Regions from separate parts of the Homo sapiens genome. Here region 1 is linked to region 2. The links are contacts of gene promoters, found by promoter capture Hi-C in human tissues and cell types (Jung and others, 2019). All regions are on one chromosome and are shown on one strand. The core of a region is centred on a gene start or on the middle of the fragment in contact, and the rest is flanking DNA. Distances in the headings are between cores, read along the strand shown.

What was found. The method cuts DNA at HindIII sites, captures the fragments that hold promoters and counts their contacts. A contact is called where the count stands out against the background at its distance.
Region 1: a contact is called between a fragment that was not itself captured here and the fragment with the promoter of ZBTB47 in region 2, in 1 of the 25 tissues and cell types used here (pancreas).

Annotation. Positions count from the first base shown.
Region 1 is chr3:42,511,157-42,514,712 of GRCh38, reverse strand. VIPR1 (vasoactive intestinal peptide receptor 1) reads right to left here. Exons shown (of 13, transcript NM_004624.4): 2 at 859-964. Among named protein-coding and RNA genes, the nearest start is that of VIPR1, 10 kb to the right of the region's middle. The HindIII fragment of the contact is 3,997 bases long and covers 295-3,556 here.
Region 2 is chr3:42,652,226-42,655,860 of GRCh38, reverse strand. It overlaps ZBTB47 (zinc finger and BTB domain containing 47), which reads right to left and starts at 2,164. Exons shown (of 6, transcript NM_145166.4): 1 at 1,978-2,164. It overlaps ZBTB47-AS1 (ZBTB47 and NKTR antisense RNA 1), which reads left to right and starts at 1,473. Exons shown (of 3, transcript NR_125400.1): 1 at 1,473-1,867. RefSeq lists silencers at 1,064-1,143, 1,184-1,543 and an enhancer at 1,549-2,190. The HindIII fragment of the contact is 7,927 bases long and covers 1-3,635 here.

The DNA.
Region 1 (3,556 bases), core at 1,044-3,543, 140 kb after region 2:
AGCCCCTGGGGCTGACCTTGACTTGTCTCATCAGCCGAATAATGAGCTGATGGTTCATCTGGCCACTAAGGGTGGGTTGGGATGGAGAGGCCAGTGTGTTTGCCTGTATGTGTATGCTTAGGGGCTGGGCGTGTGTGTATGTGTGTGTGTGTGTGTGTGTGTGTGTGTGTGGTGTCACTATCGGTCCTCTGGATGTAGCAGAGGCAGAGCCTGGGGTTGAGAGGGAGGAGTGGGCCTCAGTTTCCAGGCTGAATATTGGCTGTGGTGAGTATTCCACATCTTTCCAGACAAAACTTGTGCCCCTTCTTGCTCGGGACCACTAAGATGGCTTTGAGCTTCCATGTGGTCCCTGTGGGGGTCACATATTGTGACTGAATGTGCCTCTTCTTCCTCTGGAGATGCTAACAGTACAATGTTCTAATCCTGGAGTGTGGTGTTATGGGGCTAATTCTCCCATGCCAGCTCCAGGGGGTCCTGGAACCTGCCTGCCCTCATTGGTCACAGATCCCCCACCACATAGCACCCTGGGCCTTGTGTCCTGGGTGGGCTGGCCGCCATGGAGATCTTCACTTTTCCTGGAGAAGAGGGATAGGGACCCCCAGAGGCAGAGTTGGCTCCATGTACTTTTCAGAACCCCAATTTAGTATGTCCTCCTTAGCTGCGGCTGGGAGCTCCCCAGACCTGGGGTGGGAATGTGGAAGCCTGTTAGCCCCTTTCTTCTTCCATCTGGCTCCCCAGCCGCTCCTCACCATCATCCAATAAATGTGGAACGAACGTGACTTGGATCTCAGCTTGAGACATGAGGAATCTTGGGCTCCCTGGGGGCATGCAGCCCCTCTCTGCCCATGGGGGCCTCACCTATTGTCTCATTCTCCAGCTGGGCCTCCTCCAGGCACTGCTTGTGCTGCACCTCGATCATCTGCACATAGTCACACTCCTCCTGCAGCCTGGCCGCCTGGCCGCCCTGAGAACAAAGACAGGGAGGGCCCATCAGCCTCGTCCATAGACTCAGGAGCACCAGGCCCAGTCTCTGGACTGCACCTGCCCTCTCCCTGGAAGAGATCCAAGTTCCAGATGGAACCCCAATACCAACCCAAGACTGAAACCTGAACCTGACCCCAACCTGTTGTCCATTGCCCCCAAACCTGGGTCGGCCCCGAGGACCCTGCCACAGCTTCTTGATGGCTCCCCCATTAGTGCTGCAGCTGTAACTGCTTTGTCTCTTTGCGGGTGGCACAACTCCAGATGGCGGCAAGAGGGCCTCCCCTTAGAGGCCTGAGCTGGCCCTCTGGACTCTGCCACTCTCCAGCTTGGTTTGAGAGTCTGTCCCTGTCTTGATCTCCCTGATGAGTGGGGCCAGCTCGTGCTACTACTCTGTTATGTGGAGTTGGATCCTGGCCTCTGGTTCCCAGGGCCAGCCCTGGGAAGAATCCAGGAGTCTAGCTGTATTTTCCAGCTTCTGTCATTCCAGGATTCTGTGCTCAGTCCCCTGGGTCACCAGGCTAGGGAGGGGACTCTGGCCTTCCTTGCCCAGACCTCACCTGCCTCCTTTTTAGTTTCTAAATAATTCAAGCTATACCAGATCTACTGAGGGTGGGGAGGTTTAAGGAAGTAAGAGAGCCCCTCTAGGATCCCACCAGGCCTCCCCTGCTTCTGGAAGGTGAAGAGAAGGGATGGAAAAGTCCAAGCTTCTCCTCTTCCCCTCCCTGTACCCTGGCCAGGGATCAGGGGTGGGCCAGACCAGTGTGACTGGGGTCACTGACCTTGTGGAAGACATGTGAGTGGGGGTGATGGCTGTCTAGGAATAGCCAGAAAAAACAGGTCTTGGGAACTCTTAGATGGGTGTGGGTGGGTGAAGGCCTCCATGGAGGAAGCGTTGGACTGGCAGCACCTTCTGCGTCTTTGGCTTTAGAAAAGTGGTTGCTGGCCCCGGCAACCCCACACCAGTTTCCTCATCTCTGCCTGGGAGAAGAATGTCAGTTTCCACCAGGGCCATAGAAGAGAGTCCAGCAAGACCACTCCAGAATCAGACATTCTCAGTGTCTCCTCCAGCTTGTCCCTCCCACCCTGGGACAGGGTCCTTACCTCCCTGGGCCTCAGTTTCTCTGTAGGCTACGTGGGCCTCAACCACCTCCCCTGCCGACTTAGAGATTCTTGAAGTGGGTCCGTGGGAAGAACATAGGTGGGGGACCTTCCTTTAAGGGGGTCCCTCCTGGCCTGCAGGCACCAAAGTGCTTAGTACTTTGACCATTGTTTTAAGTAAATCAGCTCCATTTACTGGGATGTGCATCCCAGCTGGCAGCCAGCAATCCATTGCTGCGGAGGGAGAGGGGTCCAAGCTGAAGCTGAACAACTCAGTGCCTAAGAAGCTGCACAGCCAAGTCCTTTCCACCCCAAACAGCTCTCTCATTCCTGTTGAGGGCTCTCTGGTGGAGCCTCTGTCTCACAGGTCACCTGCAGGCCAACACTCCCAGAAGCAGCTAGCACCATGGTTGACCTCGTCCAGGTCCAGGGAAGGCCTCCCTCTCCAGGACTCCTTTAGATTTCCCCAGCATCCAGACCTCACCTGCCTAAGTGCTGTTGCCCTGGAAGCCACAGTGAGCACGAGCTCCATCTTGCACCTTTACCAGCCAATGGGGGTAAAGACATTAGCTGGTAAGTCATTTAAAACTTATTGAAAGTAACACAGTTGTGTGATGGAGCATGATACAGTTACTCGTATAACTGTTAAAAGATAGGAGACTTCAAGGAAACTGTCTGTGGTTCCTCTTTGGGGTCATGTGCTTTCTCTCCTTCCCATAAGGGTTACTCAGGCTGAAATGCTCAAGACACTCTGTCTCAAGGGATTTGTGGCTGTTTCATCCTCAAGTATAGGGGGAATAGTGGCCAGGAAGATCTCAGAGGTGGCTTCTGGAAGAGGAATCTGGGTACTGGCTACCCTGCCTTGTGTCCCATCATTGGTCTGTCTTGCCTGTCTTGGAGCACATTTCTCACCAAGGTACCATCCCAACCCCATCTCCCACCAGCAACAGGGTTCTTTCTGCTTTCTGGCCCCTTCCCAGCGTCTCCTGATTCTCCTGTCCATTCTTATCTCTCATAACACTGTAACGTCAAAACAGGATGGATGGTAGCAGATATCTCTTGTTTCTGCCTTCCACCATCCTTTACTCTCTTCTGGTGCCATGTCCTCATCTGTGTCTGGGAAACAACCTCCTTCCCTACCTCTAGTTCATGGAGTTCTGATGAACCCTCTTCCAGGGGATTGACATGTGACCAAGGCTTAAGTCCATCAGAGCATTCCTGGCCACAGTGCCTGACACATGGCCTGAGTCAGGCTACTCAGAGCCAGGAGGCTCACTCCTGGGACTTTGGATTAAGTGATTAAGAAAGTGAATTTGGTTTTTCCCCACTGGACTGGAAACCTTAAAGGAAGCAAGGGCTCAAGCTTCTGCTGTCTTCTTGTTGACAAGTGGAACACACGGATAAAAACTATACAGCTGAAGGCAGAATAGAGAGATGGAGAAAAATCAGGTTCTCTTAATATTGTCTGGGTCTG
Region 2 (3,635 bases), core at 915-3,414:
ATTGCTAAGGTAGTACTCTCAGCCAAGGCAGCACCATCCTTGGCCCTTGGGGGGCCCTAAACCTCATGACCTGATTGGACTCTCTTGACTGGGCACAGAGATGCTGCCCGAGTCCACAATTGGCAGCCCCTCAGCAGGGTTCAGCCACCCCCATGTCTGGCCCCTCCCACACAATGCCCACCAGCTGTGCTGGCCTCCACAGCCAGATGTGCTGGTTCCCGGAAGCAATGCGTGCCCCTCCCCATCCGGCTGTGCCAGCTGCAGTCCAGGTCACTCCAGCCTAGCTAAGATGCAGGACCAGGGAGGTGGTCAGGCACTCTGGTTGCCAGGGGGTTTCATGCCCTCAAACCCTTGCCCCAAGTCAGGCTGGGGATTGGCCAGGTGCCAGACATCTCTCCAGGCTGCTCACCCAAGTCAGAGCCTTCTACACCTGAGGGGTACCTTGCCTCACTGATGAGAAGCCTCATCTCTCTACCCTGCCTCAGAGCCTCCCTGGAAGGCCCCATGATGAAACCTGGGGAGTCCATCTGCGCCCCCCTCCCATGTCAATTCTTTCTATGCTGGGCAGCAGTGGGGGGGCCCAGACTGAGCAAGGGGGCACAGGCTCATGACCTCTAGGCTCCTCCTTTTGGTGAGGGAGTGTCCATGCCAGCCTCCTCTGTGCACTTACCTCCCCTCTTTCCCTTGGAAATAGACCCAGAGAGGGCGGGGGATCTGCCCAAGGTCACACAGGAGTTGGTACGGGAGCTCTGGGTGTCCTCCCACACCCCCTTGGCCCGGGTCATCCCGAATCCCCAGGCAGGGCGGCTCCAGCGCCCACGTGGCCCAAGGCCCAGGCGGGAATCCGACTCCCTCTTCCCCCCATTACCCAGCCCGAGGGCGGCGCCGTCCGGGCGCAGGGGAGCGCCCCCCTTCGCCGGTGCCTAGCAAGACCTCAGCCTCGCGCGCCGGCGCCCCCACCACAGGAATTTAACCCCCTCCCCACCGAGAGCAGCGCCACAGCGCCGCATTCCCGGCCCGCGGGACCCAGCAGATGGAGCCGGGAGACCGGGGGAGGGGGGAAGATCCCTCCAGCCCCTCCACCCGGGCCCGCGGGCCGTGTGCCTGGGAGGTCAGAGCTGGCAGGTGGGCGGATAAGCGGGGGGACAGGCAGGGCCCTGCGTACCATGGTGCCGTGGCGCTGGGGGCTCACAGGGCCCCGCGGGATCGCGCTGCCCCCGGCGGCCAGGCCAGGGCCGCTCCATGAAGCGCCGCGCTGGGGGCCGCCCCCGCGCAGGGCCCCGCGACCATGGCCCCCGGGGGCGCGGCCAGGCAGGCGGAGGCGCAGGGCCGCGGCGAGTCCAGCGCCAAGCAGCTGCGGCCCCAGAGCCTCGGGCGCGGCGGGCGGGGGGCGCGGGGCGCCGATTGGAGCCCGCGCGTCAGCTGGGGCCGCCGTCTGGACGCTTAAAGGGCCAGGCCGCCTGCGTGCCGGCGGGGGGCGCGGACACGCGTGGTGTGCGCGGTCCCCGTGCAGCCCGCCCTGCCGCAGGCTGCCCTCCACCCCCAGCCCCAGCTCCAGCCCCCAGCCCGTCCCCACTGCTCATATCCGAGCAGATAGACCCCGGCCCCACCCTCCCGTGCTGAGCCTCCTTTCTGCCGGGAAGTTCGTCCGGGAGTCAAACATCGCTGCCCTCCGGTTGCGCCACGGAGGGGGAGCCAGGATAGGAAGCTGCCGTGAAATCAGGAAGCTGAGCGCGCCGGGCCCCGGATCCGAACAGAAAAGGCTTCCACCCGCTCCCCTGAGGGATCCCACGCTGAGGGACTGAACCCCGCACCCCAGCCGCGCTCACCACCCCCACCCTCTCGCCTGGGCTGCTCTGACCTGGGGGTGAGTCTGGGGTCCCCAACTGGTCCAGTCCCCCATCCCTATCCCAGGGCGGCGCAGGGCTCATTTTGCTCTGTGCCTCCAGGACTTGGCTCCAGTGGACCCATACCTACCTGGCGGCCTCATGCTGCATAGGGCCACCCAGGGCAGGAGATTTAAATCCCAGGACTACAACCGCAGCGATCAAATCATCTAAGGTGACTGGCCCAGGGCCAGGAGACAGAGGGACCAGAGGAGTAGGGACCAGAGGCCCAGGCCCCACTGTGCCCCTCTAGCCGTGTGACCTGACCACTGCTGAGTGGCCCCCTTGCTCAGCCTCTGCTGGGGAGATGCAGCCAGGCTTGCGGAATGCTGCTCTGGCATGGACACCCGTGGGGGCAGGGGGCTGGCTCTGTTGGCAGGAGGCTGTAAAGGAAGGCTGCCAGGCTGAGCAGGCAGCAGGGTGGGGACCACGGGGCACTAGACCTGGCAAGGTCTGGATGGTGACTGGGCCACCATTGTAGAGGAGAGGCCTCTGTGGACATCCCCTCCTCCTACCCCAAGCTCACTACTGCCCATCCTGGGTCACTCTCATGTTGCCCCCATCCTGATATTCCACACCCCTCCCCACATATGTGCGCTTGTGTTTACATACAAGTCCATGTCCAGCTGCAGCAGTATCTCCTGGGTATGTTGTCCTACTCACGAGTGGGCAGGAACTCTGGCGCTGGCTCAGGGTGACTTGGTTCTAGGTGCCAGAGGAGAAATGGAGGAGAGACCAGGGTATTAGGCAGGTGCTGTGAAACAGCCTGATGGTCTGTCCTGTAAGATTGCAAGGGCCTCCTCCCCCACCCCCACTCTCTGCCAGAATACGTAGGGCCTCAGGATAAGGCTATCCCAGAGCTAGGGAGAAAATGTCTCAGGGGCCAAACCTGGGGCATCTGGAAGCCCCTGGCAGCTGCTGCAGACATCCTGTACCTGCATGGGTGCACAGACAGCTGGCCCAGCTCCCAGAGGCCCCAGGTTAAGGCCAGGCCAGAGCAGCTTACATGCTTCTGACCAGCTAGCCCGCTGAGGGCTGCCTTCTGCCTCTTCCTCCCCAGCCCACTTCCTCATCTGACTCACAGTGGATCCTAGCACCGGCCCAGGAGTTAGTTAGGGAGGGGCTGTGTGCCCATTGGTTGGATAAGGACTCTGAGGCTCAGAGCGGGACAAATCACTTAGGCATCAGCATCAGGAGCCAGGGGAAGGGGAGGTGGGGAGAAGGGACCCCTCCACGGGCTGGAAGAAGCCTGGCAGAGAGAGCTGCATGGGACATTGCTAGGCCCACTGCCAAGCCAAAGCTTGACAGAGGGTGTGGCCAGCGTGACTGAGGTAGTGATGCTGGCCCTATGGGGCCTTGCTGGGGCCTTAGCTCCAGCAGTCAAGCTGCAGAAAGGGCTGGAGGTTGGGTGAGAAGGGAGGGGACAGGTGGTGGGGAGGCACTCAGTCTCCCTGAAGGCCTCGGCTGTTCCCCTCTTGCTTCTCTGGCCTGCAGCTCATCAGCTGGGGAGTCCCAGGGCAGAGCCTGAGCTCTGTGAGCAGCTGTGGGCACCTGGCAACACTGGACCTGGCAGGAAGGAGTGGTTTGAAGAGCTGTCTGGTGGGCCCACAGGGCTGCTCAGAGCTGAGGCTTGAACTTGAACATTAACTAGAGCAATGAGGGAGTGAAAGGGCTTTCCAGACAGAAAGCCTGCAAAGGCCAGGAGGTGGAGACAATTTAGCATCTGCAGGGAACTAGAGGGGATTTGGT